4 separate regions of the Homo sapiens genome follow, and all the other regions are linked to region 2. Evidence: promoter capture Hi-C in 16 types of primary human blood cells and fetal thymus (Javierre and others, 2016). All regions are on one chromosome and are shown on one strand. Each heading gives the region's core, a stretch centred on a gene start or on the middle of the fragment in contact. The rest is flanking DNA. Distances are from core to core; before and after follow the strand shown. Region 1 holds the start of GZF1 (GDNF inducible zinc finger protein 1). Region 2 holds the start of ZNF133 (zinc finger protein 133). Region 3 overlaps NAPB (NSF attachment protein beta). Region 4 overlaps ANKEF1 (ankyrin repeat and EF-hand domain containing 1).

The links. The method cuts DNA at HindIII sites, captures the fragments that hold promoters and counts their contacts. A CHiCAGO score of 5 or more calls a contact.
Region 1: a contact is called between a fragment that was not itself captured here and the fragment with the promoter of ZNF133 in region 2, in 2 of 17 cell types (naive CD8 T cells and naive CD4 T cells). The highest score is 13.0, in naive CD8 T cells.
Region 3: a contact is called between a fragment that was not itself captured here and the fragment with the promoter of ZNF133 in region 2, in 3 of 17 cell types (total CD8 T cells, non-activated CD4 T cells and activated CD4 T cells). The highest score is 9.1, in total CD8 T cells.
Region 4: a contact is called between a fragment that was not itself captured here and the fragment with the promoter of ZNF133 in region 2, in 2 of 17 cell types (total CD8 T cells and naive CD4 T cells). The highest score is 11.0, in total CD8 T cells.

What each region holds. Positions count from the first base shown.
Region 1 is chr20:23,360,063-23,362,762 of GRCh38, forward strand. GZF1 (GDNF inducible zinc finger protein 1) reads left to right here and starts at 2,120. Exons shown (of 6, transcript NM_022482.5): 1 at 2,120-2,175. RefSeq lists silencers at 1,406-1,495, 1,916-2,405 and an enhancer at 1,586-1,845. The HindIII fragment of the contact is 212 bases long and covers 1,186-1,397 here.
Region 2 is chr20:18,287,189-18,289,888 of GRCh38, forward strand. It overlaps ZNF133 (zinc finger protein 133), which reads left to right and starts at 1,339. Exons shown (of 7, transcript NM_001352452.2): 1 at 1,339-1,416. RefSeq lists enhancers at 912-961, 1,041-1,946, 1,052-1,391, 1,952-2,071. The HindIII fragment of the contact is 851 bases long and covers 942-1,792 here.
Region 3 is chr20:23,417,604-23,420,303 of GRCh38, forward strand. All of the region lies in intron 1 of NAPB (NSF attachment protein beta), which reads right to left. Among named protein-coding and RNA genes, the nearest start is that of NAPB, 2.5 kb to the right of the region's middle. The HindIII fragment of the contact is 962 bases long and covers 935-1,896 here.
Region 4 is chr20:10,035,724-10,038,423 of GRCh38, forward strand. ANKEF1 (ankyrin repeat and EF-hand domain containing 1) reads left to right here. Exons shown (of 11, transcript NM_022096.6): 3 at 2,535-2,700. The coding sequence starts at 2,579. The region is part of intron 3 of SNAP25-AS1 (SNAP25 antisense RNA 1); the gene reads right to left. Among named protein-coding and RNA genes, the nearest start is that of ANKEF1, 2.1 kb to the left of the region's middle. The HindIII fragment of the contact is 2,646 bases long and covers 30-2,675 here.

The DNA.
Region 1 (2,700 bases), core at 42-2,541, 5.1 Mb after region 2:
TTTCACCATGTTGTCCAGGCTGGTCTTGAACTCCTGACCTCAGGTGATCCGCCCACTTCAGCCTCCCAAAGTGCTAGAATTACAGGTGTGAGCCACCGCACCTGGCCTAATTTTTGTATTTTAGCAGAGACGGGGTTTCACCATGTTGGCCAGGCTGGTCTTCAACTCCTGACCTCAAGTGATCGGCCCGCCTCGGCCTCCCAAAGTGCTGGGATTACAGGCGTGAGCCACCGTGCCTGACCACCTTTTTGTAATGCAAAACAAAATCATAAAACACGATTCTGGGCCTGCTGGAGCCATGGGTGAAAACTGCGTTCATTCCAATTTCTTCAAATCATGGAATGCAAATATAGAGAGTCGGCCTAAGAAAGATTTCTGTCACTCATTCATTCTTCAAATATTTATTGAGCACCTACTATGTGTGGGAAGCTGGCTCCTGTTCAGGAAATATAATTAAAAGTACAATCTCCCAACCCTCTTCAGAAAGGTAGTGGAGAAAGAAAACACTTTGTAATTGAATAAGCATTAAACTAGAATGTGATACCCATCACAGGCAATCCATTAAGAGACTGCAAAGACAGAACGAAATCTCACTCTTTTGTGCAGCCAAGCAATCTATTACACACATTTTCAAGATAAACAATAACTAGCTCTCAAGGGAACTTGGCAGCATTTTTCATCACACACAGTTCATCTAACCTGATATTTGGGATGATCCTCTGTGTTAGCCAATTGGCTTTATCTAGAGGAAAAAGAAACTTGTATCTTTATGATATGAGATAATTTTGTAAGTTGGAGCAAAGGGCCCACTGAAGTTAGGCTCCTACTCCCCCATTAAAACTGGGAGACAGGGGCATTAACTCCCTTGATACTTAAAGAGATGGCTCCTAGGTCCTAGAAAAAGACATATCTAGGTTATAAAGCGCACAAAAAGGCCTAACTAGTCTTCAAAAGGATTTATATATTTCAAAGAGAGGAAAAAGTACTTACACTAATTACCAATTTTCTAAAAGTAAATGTTCGAAGAAAAAGGGAGGGAAATCTCATATTTTCAACAGGAAGTAGTAAACCTTATTTTAAATTTGTATTTGTCCTGACAGTCCCCAAACATTACAAACTCAACGTGTCGGTAAGACAAGGCTGAGTTAACTGCTGGCCACAGTAAGGGACAGCATGACCTGGCAAAGCTTTACCAATGGCTGGGAGCAAAAGGCAAGGTCAGTTTATTGAGAACTGGAAGTCTGACTCAAGGAAGGTGTTTCAAAGCGGGCTTTAGTTAGTATTGAGCAAGAATTGGTGGAAACAGCAAGATTTCGAGGAGTCAGCGAATCTTAGGGAATCAATTGTGCTTTCCCCGAAGAGTGGATGGGTCTCTGGGGAAGTTCTGTAGTGAACAAAGCTTTCGCCCGAATGGGAACTCCTGGAAATAAAGCCCTGCAGTAAAGACGGCAGGGTGCGGTCCCGGCTCCTGGCGCGCCGAGCCCCCCAGCAGGGCGGGGGCACCGCGGAAGAAGCGCCCCAGAGGAGAGCGCCGCGCCGAGCCCCGCCTGGCGCCAGTTCTCCAGCGCCCGTGGAGGCATCTGCGCCCCTAGTAGCCAAGGTGAGTACCAGCTCCAAGCCCGGCTTTCCGCGAGGTCCCTCGCGTGGCCACCGTGCCCTAAGGGTGCGCTCGGCCTCGGGGACGTGAGCAGCTCTTAGTGGGAAGCCAGCTGCAGGCCCTGACCGCAGGCTGCTGGGGCCCGGAAGCGCTGGCGCCTTGCGGCCAGAAGCCCGGAATGGACGCGAAAGTGACCACGCGAATCTGACGCTCACGTGACTTTTCGCGACTGGCCCCGCCCCCCTGTGGCGTGCCGCAGCGCAGACGTCGCTGTCTCCTGCGCAGGCGCAGGCCTTGGCTCGCGGCGGGTGACGCAATGCGGCGGGTGACGCAATCCGGCGTCGCCAGTCAGTCGCGCGGCCAGATCAGGTAACTGCCCGAACCGCTCCGCCGCCCGACGTGTGGCTCAGCCCCTTCCTCAGCCCCGCCAGGGGCGGGGCCGGCCGCGGGAGGGGAGGGGCCTGCAGCGACCAATCGGCGGTGCCCGCGCAGGGTGCTACGCCACGCCCAGCCGGGCCGGCCGTTCCTACCGGCCTGGTCCAGCGGACAGCGGCTGCAGCGGGGGCGCCGGCTGGGAGGTGAGTGCGCGGCCCGTAGGCCTGGCTCCGGCCCCTCGCCGCCCGCCGCCGCCTCTTTGTCCGCGCGCCCCGGCTGCTCTGTGGACCTGCGCGTCTCGGGGATGCGGGAGCGGGGGCAGGGGGCGGCCCGAGGGCCTGATCCACGCGGCCCCGGATGCCCGCGTCGGGAGGCGGCGCGTCGGGCCGAGGAGGGGCTTCTCTGTGGCTGCAGTAGTTTGTTCTCTGGGTCGTCTTTGGAGTGGCCGAGCGGCGTCCGGGCGCTGGGGCGGCCAAGTGGCGCGGGAAGGGTGGGAGGTGCCGTGAGGGCGGCGAGGACAGCGGCGGATTTAAGCCCCACTGGAAACCCCGGCCCTTGTGGCCGTGGACTGGGCTGCGGGTAGCAGCGTCTCCTGGAAGGGCTCTGGCCCCGTGAGCCTCGGGGATTCAGGGGCCGCCGACGTTGGTGCAGATGCCGGGCGCACTGGGAGGCGGCCGGAATGCCAATGAGATTCGGCGGATACGCAGCTGTCACCGGCCGCAGACTGC
Region 2 (2,700 bases), core at 89-2,588:
CGTCTGTGTTCTTCCAACTCCTCATCTTGCCTAATTCCTCAGGCAGCACCTCATCCTGTAAGTCTTCATTTCCAGGCTTAAGAGATGTCAGCCATCTGTGTCTTTATTGTACAGCCAGCACAAGTGAACACTTGAACACAGGCATCCCTGCATTGTTGTTCTGAACCTTTATGTGTATTAACAACTAATTTCTTGGTGATGACTGACTCATGAGGCAGAGAATGATGTTGAGGGATGAATCCAATTGACACTGGACATGTCTCCGGAGCCAGGACTGAACTGAATTCACAATAAATAATGTAGCCTCGGGGTACCAGAAGGGAATGGATTCACCCTCTGAGAGCTACAAAAGAATTTTAGGAAATTCTCATCTCCCTGGCCCTTCAGACAGTGGTCATTTTCTTGGTCTTCCAAGAGAATGACAAAGTTTCAGAAAGCCTATCTGAGGAAGGTGAAGGGCAGTGAGAGGGTGCACGGGTGGAAAAGCCCTCTCAAGAGTGACGTGGGCCTTCCCCTCGAGCTCCCCAGATGGGGCGTCCCAGATGGCACCAGCGCAATCTTGTTCTCAACCAGGATCCCGGACAAAGACCTAGAGATCCAAGCCGACGGCAGGCCAAGCTCTGGCCCGAGACTGAGGCTTCTGCTTCTCAGGAGATGAGAGTTTAACAATAACTTCGTGGATTTCAAAAAGAAGAAAAAGGTCTCAGGGCACCGGAAAAGGTGTATTCGGGTTGAGGGCGTGGGCTCAGAATCGGGTCTACCTCGTACGGGATGTGAGACTTCAGGCAGACTGCTCGGCCTTTTCAAGGCTTTAAATGGAGCTAAAGGGTATACGACATGACGTTCGCCCGGTGTTTAGGAATATGGGGCGTGACTTTCCAAGCAGGCGGCTGGAGCCAGGGAGACCACAGGCCGCTGCAACACAAACCAGCACCTGAACAAGCTTGGTCAGCCAGCGGTACACCTCCGCCAACCCCAGAAGCCGAACAGATGCGCCCCGAAACGTCATTTCCGCGCGCCAAGGGGCGGGGCCGGTACCGGGTGCGGAAGTCGCTCCAGGGGTCACTGGGAAGTGTAGTTTTCGAGACAGAGGCGCTCAGAAGGAGGGTCACAGTAGGGCCAGGCACTCTTCTCGGGAGCTCCTACGTGTTTTATGCACGTGGTTAAGAAAAAAGAGGGAGAATTCAGGTGCCACAGTGGCCATTCTCCGGTGACCGGAGCGTGTTACTCAGAAACGGATCCGTCAGAGGCCAATGGGAGCTGCCGGCCTTCAGGGCGCGCCTGGTGGCGCCGAGCATCCTGGGAGGTGTGGTCCGGGCGCTGTGCCGAGGATTCGGGGTAGTGTAGTCCTGGCGCCCCGCTGGAGGAGCTCCCCAGCTGGTGGCTGGAGCGACCCCTTGTTCTTTGGTGGCGCTGGTGAGTGAGGCTCCCGCGGGACCCTTGCCGCAGCCGTACCCTTTTCTGCGCGAAAAGGAAGGTCCCGAAAGGCTGGACTATGGGCTGAATTTGGGGACCGTGCGGGTGGCGCGGGGGTGGTGATTGTGGTGGGAACGCGCTGGCGTGGCGCAGGCCGTCCTCTCCCAGATGTCTTATTTTGGGGGTGTGGGCGTGCATCTCCAGGGGAGTTGGGTGAAGCCCATCCGTGAAACTGGATGGTGATGAGTGGGGGATCGGGCTCTCTCTCCTAGGGTTCTTGTGGGTGGGGACAGGTTCGGCTTTGGCTGAAGTCGGGTATTGGGAAAGGGAGTCGCTGATGCCATAAGTCCCCGGTTTTGGGGGAGTTGAATAAATAAGCTTTTTGGGGGAATGGTATTTCCCAGGTGGTGGAATGGGAACCATCCCTGGGGCCATGTGTCCCCGAGGCATTGGTCGGTTGAGGGCTAGTCTCTTGGGGCCACACTATTCTTCGGCTTTGCTGGAGTGGAATGAGGAGCGGTCTGGCTTGACCAAACAAGCCAAGGTTAGACTGGATCTGGGGTGGCCATTTTGCCGCGATCTTAGGGTTTCACTTTGGTTGGTCACCCCCGGGTTCGGGCGTTGGAGGAGGAAGTCTGGCTGGGACGCACAGGACAGGTTTTTTCCAAAGGTCCCAGGGACCGTCATTGATCGCAAGAATTACGGATTCCCAGGCCCCTGGTGTGGCCAGGCTTTGGGATTTTACATTCCATTTAAGTTTTTATTGCGGAGAAATTTCAAACAGCCAGAAGTAGATAGAACTCTATAGACCAGATCTCCATCACCCAGATTCAACACTTAAAACCTTATGACCAATCTTGATTCATCTCAGAATGGACACAGAGAATCCTTGCAATCCAGAGTTCACCGTCACTGCCCTTACTGTGTAAGAGCACGGTCTCCACAGCCACATTTCCTCTAGGCTCTGTCACTTTATAGCTGTGTCACCTTGGGCAAGATGCTGACTTCACTGTACCTCAGTTTCCTCGATTTTATCCTAAAGAGGATAATAGCATCTATCGTATTGGGTTGTTGAAAGGATAGAATGAGGTGAAACTCCTACAGTGGCTGTAACAGTCTCTGGTGTATACTAAGTGTTCAGTGAATATTACCTTTCATTAATAACAGGCACAGAGAAGGTCGCTTCATGCTCAGCGTCAACAGCATATCAGGGCAGGTCGTGCTTTCAACCTGTACCCCAGCTGTGTTCCCAGGAAGCTGCCCGCAGTTCTTTTCTCCTTTTCT
Region 3 (2,700 bases), core at 166-2,665, 5.1 Mb after region 2:
GGCAACAAACTAAAGGACAAGACAACTCCTTTGGAAGTAGTTTTACTAAACGTACTATACTACAAACTTGAGAAAAAGTTTTAATTCCACAACTACAAAAGCACATTACTGCTTAACGGGCAATTAAGCAGAAACACAAACCACCACAACAGTGGTTTCCTGCAATGTTTGCATCCCTTGTCAGCTCTTTTCCTGGGGAGGAAGGTGGGGATGGGAAAGGAATATTGATACCTTACCTATCAAGCAGATAAGGCAGAGGATTTGTGCCTTACACAGAGAAGAAATATTTGACTGACATGTTCTCATAAATACATATGCATATTTTCATCTAATTTTACTGAAAGCAAGAAACAAAAGCTATAGAATACTACTAAGAATACAGTATTGCCACAAAACCACTGTGAGTGGTAAACACTAGAGAACTCATGACAGGCTTTAATCTGCAGATAGAGCATTCAGAATGTCTGTGATGTGAAATATCTGCAATATGCCAAGCAGCTTTTAATGACTGCCACAACCTGAAAACAGATGGCTTATCCTCTTTAAAGCACCAGCTAGTCAGCTCTTAAATATATGAGCTCTGATGATATTCAAGTCAGTATGTGTGTTTTATTAATTTTGTATTACATTAATTCTGGAGTCTGACATAGAGATGGATTACTCTGCGTTTTAAATAAAGGATTACATGCAGACCTTTAGGAATGAAAATGGTGACATTCTATAGCTAAGAAGGCAGGGGCAGGGTGGAATAACATGTATTCCAGTCTAGAAAGGTGATGATACATGCCATCTATAAGGTAGGATTCTAAACATCTAAAATTGATACAGAATCTTAATTGTCCTACTGACACAGGAACACTACGTCTGTTTTCTGGCTTCAGTAATTATACAATATTACTAAACTCCTAAAATTCTAAGTACTCTTCTTCCTGCAAGCTTTCCTGGAGCAAGTATTACTGGAAATAACAGTCTTCAAAGTATAAATCACACTTGCATGGTACATTAATGGTTAAAGCTCTTTCAGATATTTTATTTCATTAAAAGATCAATGAGGCTGGGCGTGCTGGCTCACGTCTGTAATCCCAGCACTTTGGGAGGCCAAGGCAGGTGGATCACGAGGTCAGGCATTCGAGACCAGCCTGGCCAACACAGTGAAACCCCGTCTCTACTAAAAATACAAAAAAAAAAAAAAAATTAGCCGGGCGTGGTGGCGGGTGGCTGTAATCCCAGCTACTCAGGAGACTGAGGCAGGAGAATCGCTTGAACCTGGGAGGCGGAGGTTGCAGTTAGTTGACATCCCGCCACTGCAATCCAGCCCGGGTGACAGTGTGAGACTCCGTCTCAAAAAAAAAAAATCAATGATGCAGTCTACGGCTCTGAAATTCTGGAAAAGTTATCTGTTTGGCCTACTGCTTCTTTGATAAATAACTGGAGCTGATAATTTTGATGAATATGCTAATTAATATCTCATGGTCACTGTCTCCAACATCCATGGTTCCAAATGTTTTATAAACATAACCTCACTGAACTCCCATAAATTTTGAGATATACTATTATTGTCTCCGTTTTATACACTGGAAACTGAAGCACAGAGAGGCTAAGTAACTTGCCCTAGGTCCCAAAGCTAGATAATAAACCAACCTGTTGTACCCAGGTAAGAACTAAGATGCATTAACTTTTGTGTAACTGAGTGTGAATGGTGAAGATTCGTCTTCTTATATGTCCTGTCAATAACATAGGTAGCAACATTTAAAAGGGAGATGTTTCTTTAAAAACAAAGGCTTTTCAAAATCCTTTAAGGATTATAAGCTCAAGATTTGGCCTAGTTTCCTAAAAACATCGAAAACCTCTTTCCCAAAAGGAGTGTTCTCCTGAGACAAGCACCAAGTGCTGTCAAGCTTTTTCCTCTGCCAGTTACAGACTCTCCCACAGGGAAGCACTTCCTGACTTGAAATAATGTTGTAACATTAAAATAACCTCCTGGCATGAGGTACTATGACATTAAATTTTATTAGAGTGAATTTTAAATGTTTTGTGAATCAAAACATTTAAAAGGAGTTAGTGTGGCGCTAGCACTTGATGGTACTGTCATAACTTTTAAATGCAAAACAAAACATAATTCATAGCTATATCTCCTACACATCACATGAGAAATTTAGAAACCAGCTGTGATAAACGTCCTCTGAGAGGTTCCTGAGGACAGGGACCCTTATCTTCTTGCATTTTTGCAGCCTTTATGCATTTCTGCAGTTATGCGTACTGCATGCAACTTGTCCTTAAGCATTTCCTAAAGACGTATCAATAGCGGTAAAGTATTATAATTTATAGCCAAAAGAATGAAGTTGGCAAAACAAGCTAAGAGCCCATTATGTCTGTCTTCTGAAATAGAGTCTGAACTGAATGTGTACAGAAATAAAATCGTGTCTAGTCATGCAATGGGTTAAGTATCTGCTCTTGGTAACAGCAAAGGATCTTTCACTTTCAAAAGAAAACAACGAAACAGGCACACACAAAATTTCTGCCTTTCTCATCCTAAACAGCTGAATCATTCACATATTCAACAGCCCAGAATTCTTCCGGGCTGTCAGTGCGGGCTCTGCTTTTTGAGAGGTTGGAATTTAAAATCCTCCTTAGGAGAGCACGGAAGAATTACAGGAAATTAAAGGGATTCCCAAAGGACGCCTGACTTAAACAGCAGCA
Region 4 (2,700 bases), core at 103-2,602, 8.3 Mb before region 2:
CACCTCAAACCCTACATTCCACTGTACCAAGCTTGTCTTCCTCCATTCCTCTTTCTAATGATCCTTCCTTGTCGCACAGCCCCCCTTTGAGAGTTAAATGACCTGAACACACACAGATTCCCACAGATTTTCATGTAATTTCCGAGTATTCAGACCCCGAACATGGACCTCAAGTCAAGACATTCTGCTCTATTCCACTACCTTGGTAGATGGTTAGATGTGACTAAGGTGGCCCAGGGTCATGCTGGGGAAAAGTACAGGTGTGCTTGTATGTGGAGGATCCTATATGCTGCTCAATTTACAAGGAACCCAGGACCCAAGGGCTACACTTGTGTGATTTCCTGCAGTGGGGTGAGCTCTTGGTCAGTCTTAGCAGTTGATTGTGAAGGACACTATACAGGGTGCTGCCCTCTCCCCAGCACTTCAGGGCTTTAGCTGGGAGGGAGGCAGTCCACAGGAAACCGACCCATGGACCTACTGAATTCATCACTGTAGCTGCTAATTAATTCTCCGTTAGAGATGGGTGCTAACAGAGGCAACATTGAAGTCCCTGATTGGGAAATCCTTATTTTCACAAATCAAGTGGCATTGATTCAGTCTAATCATTACCTATGTAGGAGCATCTTGCCCTATTCCATAGATGACACATATACATATGCAGTATGATGACACCGCACCTAATCGGAATATGGCCGATAATAATAAAACAAGCCATAAATAGCAGCTAAGGTGAGTGTCACCAAGCCGTGCAGCAAAGTCCAAGTGGATGACTCTGAGGCAGCCTCAGTTGGTTCCCTAGTCCACCGCATGTTATAAACAGATTAAAAGGCAAAGGAGGCCTGGCCCGGTGGCTCACGCCTGTAGTCCCAACACTTTGGGAGGCTGAGGCGGGTGGATCACCTGAGGTCAAGAGTTCAAGATCAGCCTGGCCAACATGGTGAAACCCTGTCTTTACTAAAAATACAAAAATTAGCCAGGTGTGGTGGTGGGCACCTGTAATCCCAGCTACTCGGGAGGCTGAGGCAGGAGAATCGCTTGAACCCAGGAGGTGGAGGTTGCAGTGAGCCGAGATTGTGCCACTACACTCCAGCCTGGGTGACAGAGTGAGAGTTGGGCTGAGGGTCGAGGGTCATGGGATAGGGCGAGACACCAGGGGAGTGTGTGAGGACAGAAAAGAGTCTTGAGGACCTAGCCCTGGGCACCCAACATAGGCTTCTTGAAATGGGGAGTCAGCAAAGGAGCCTGAGCAGGAGGGGGCATTGGTGTTGGATGGAAGCAGGCGATGGAGATGTTGTGGTGCCTAGAGAGACACATTTAAAGGAGAGAGAGCTCACTGCCGTAGAGAATGTAGGTGAGGGAGCAGGCTTGCGATGGAGAAAAATGGTGCATAGTTTCAACTTTTGTAGTAAGATGGAATCTTTTCATTGCAAATGTTGGAAACTTAGCTAACTAGCTTATACCAAAATAAGGTGACGGGGGAGAAGATGTATTTACCCACAAAGTGGTAGATGGCTTCTGGCACCATGGAATCCATGTTGCAACTAATGCCATCAATCTCAGTCTCTCTCCATCCTCCAAGCATGGACTCTCTCTGTGGCACCCAAGAGAGCTACCTGCGCCCCAGCCCCACACCATACTGCTTAACAACTTCAGCAGAATAGTCTTCCCTCATAGTTCTGGATGATGGGCTGCTGATTGGTTGATGTCTTTTATGCACATATGCTTGAGCTTCAGTGTACCTGGAAAGGGATGGTTCCCTCAAATGGGCCAAGCCTAGGCCACAGACGCTTTCCTCTGGCAGGGGACAGAAGGGACAGCCCCATCCAAACGACCCGGATAGGATTCCCTATGTGATAATGGAGTTCTTTTCTCATAAGAAATGAAGAAACAACTGGTCATACCTAGCATGGCCTGCTACTCAATCCAAAAGATTTTCCGTACAAGGAGGTAAAATTACATACTAGAATGCCCATCACAATTTAACAGGGAGATTGTTTATGAAGATTTGCAGTTTCCTTGCAGCCATTTAACTACATCTTTTCCACTTAAGATGACATAGGAATCACTCATCACATCTCTGATATGTTACAGAGCCCAGTAGATTTGTTTATAATGAACACCTCAAAATTATATGTTTTTATAACACCTTAAAACTATTAAAACCTGCATGATCTCTCTATTTTGCTGGTGTGAAACCATGTAGATAGATGGTGGGAACTCAAACCCTTACCATGGCAATTTAGTTAACCTCAGCTTCTTCATGGTAAAATGGTAAAGTGTGATGAGGAGGGAAGGTTAAATGGATAATAAGAAAACCACCTGGCAAACTATTTTTAATTATGATGGAAGATTTGTTTGAACTGTTTTAACTTTATGCCCACTCAATATTTTTGATATTTATGTATAAATCCTACTTTCTGAACATTTCTTAAAAAACAATCTCTGTTCTTAAGGAAGTTCCAAAATATTGTTATTTAATCAAAATGAAGATGATAAAATTAACTTTGAGTTATTTTTCTTTTTTGTTGCTTCAGCTTTAGTTTTGGTCCAGAAAGCATTTTCAAGGAGCTGGTCAAGCATGGCTTTAGCAGATAAGAGACTTGAGAACTTACAGATCTACAAAGTTCTTCAATGTGTGCGGAACAAAGACAAGAAGCAGATAGAGAAGCTGACCAAGCTTGGATACCCTGAACTAATCAA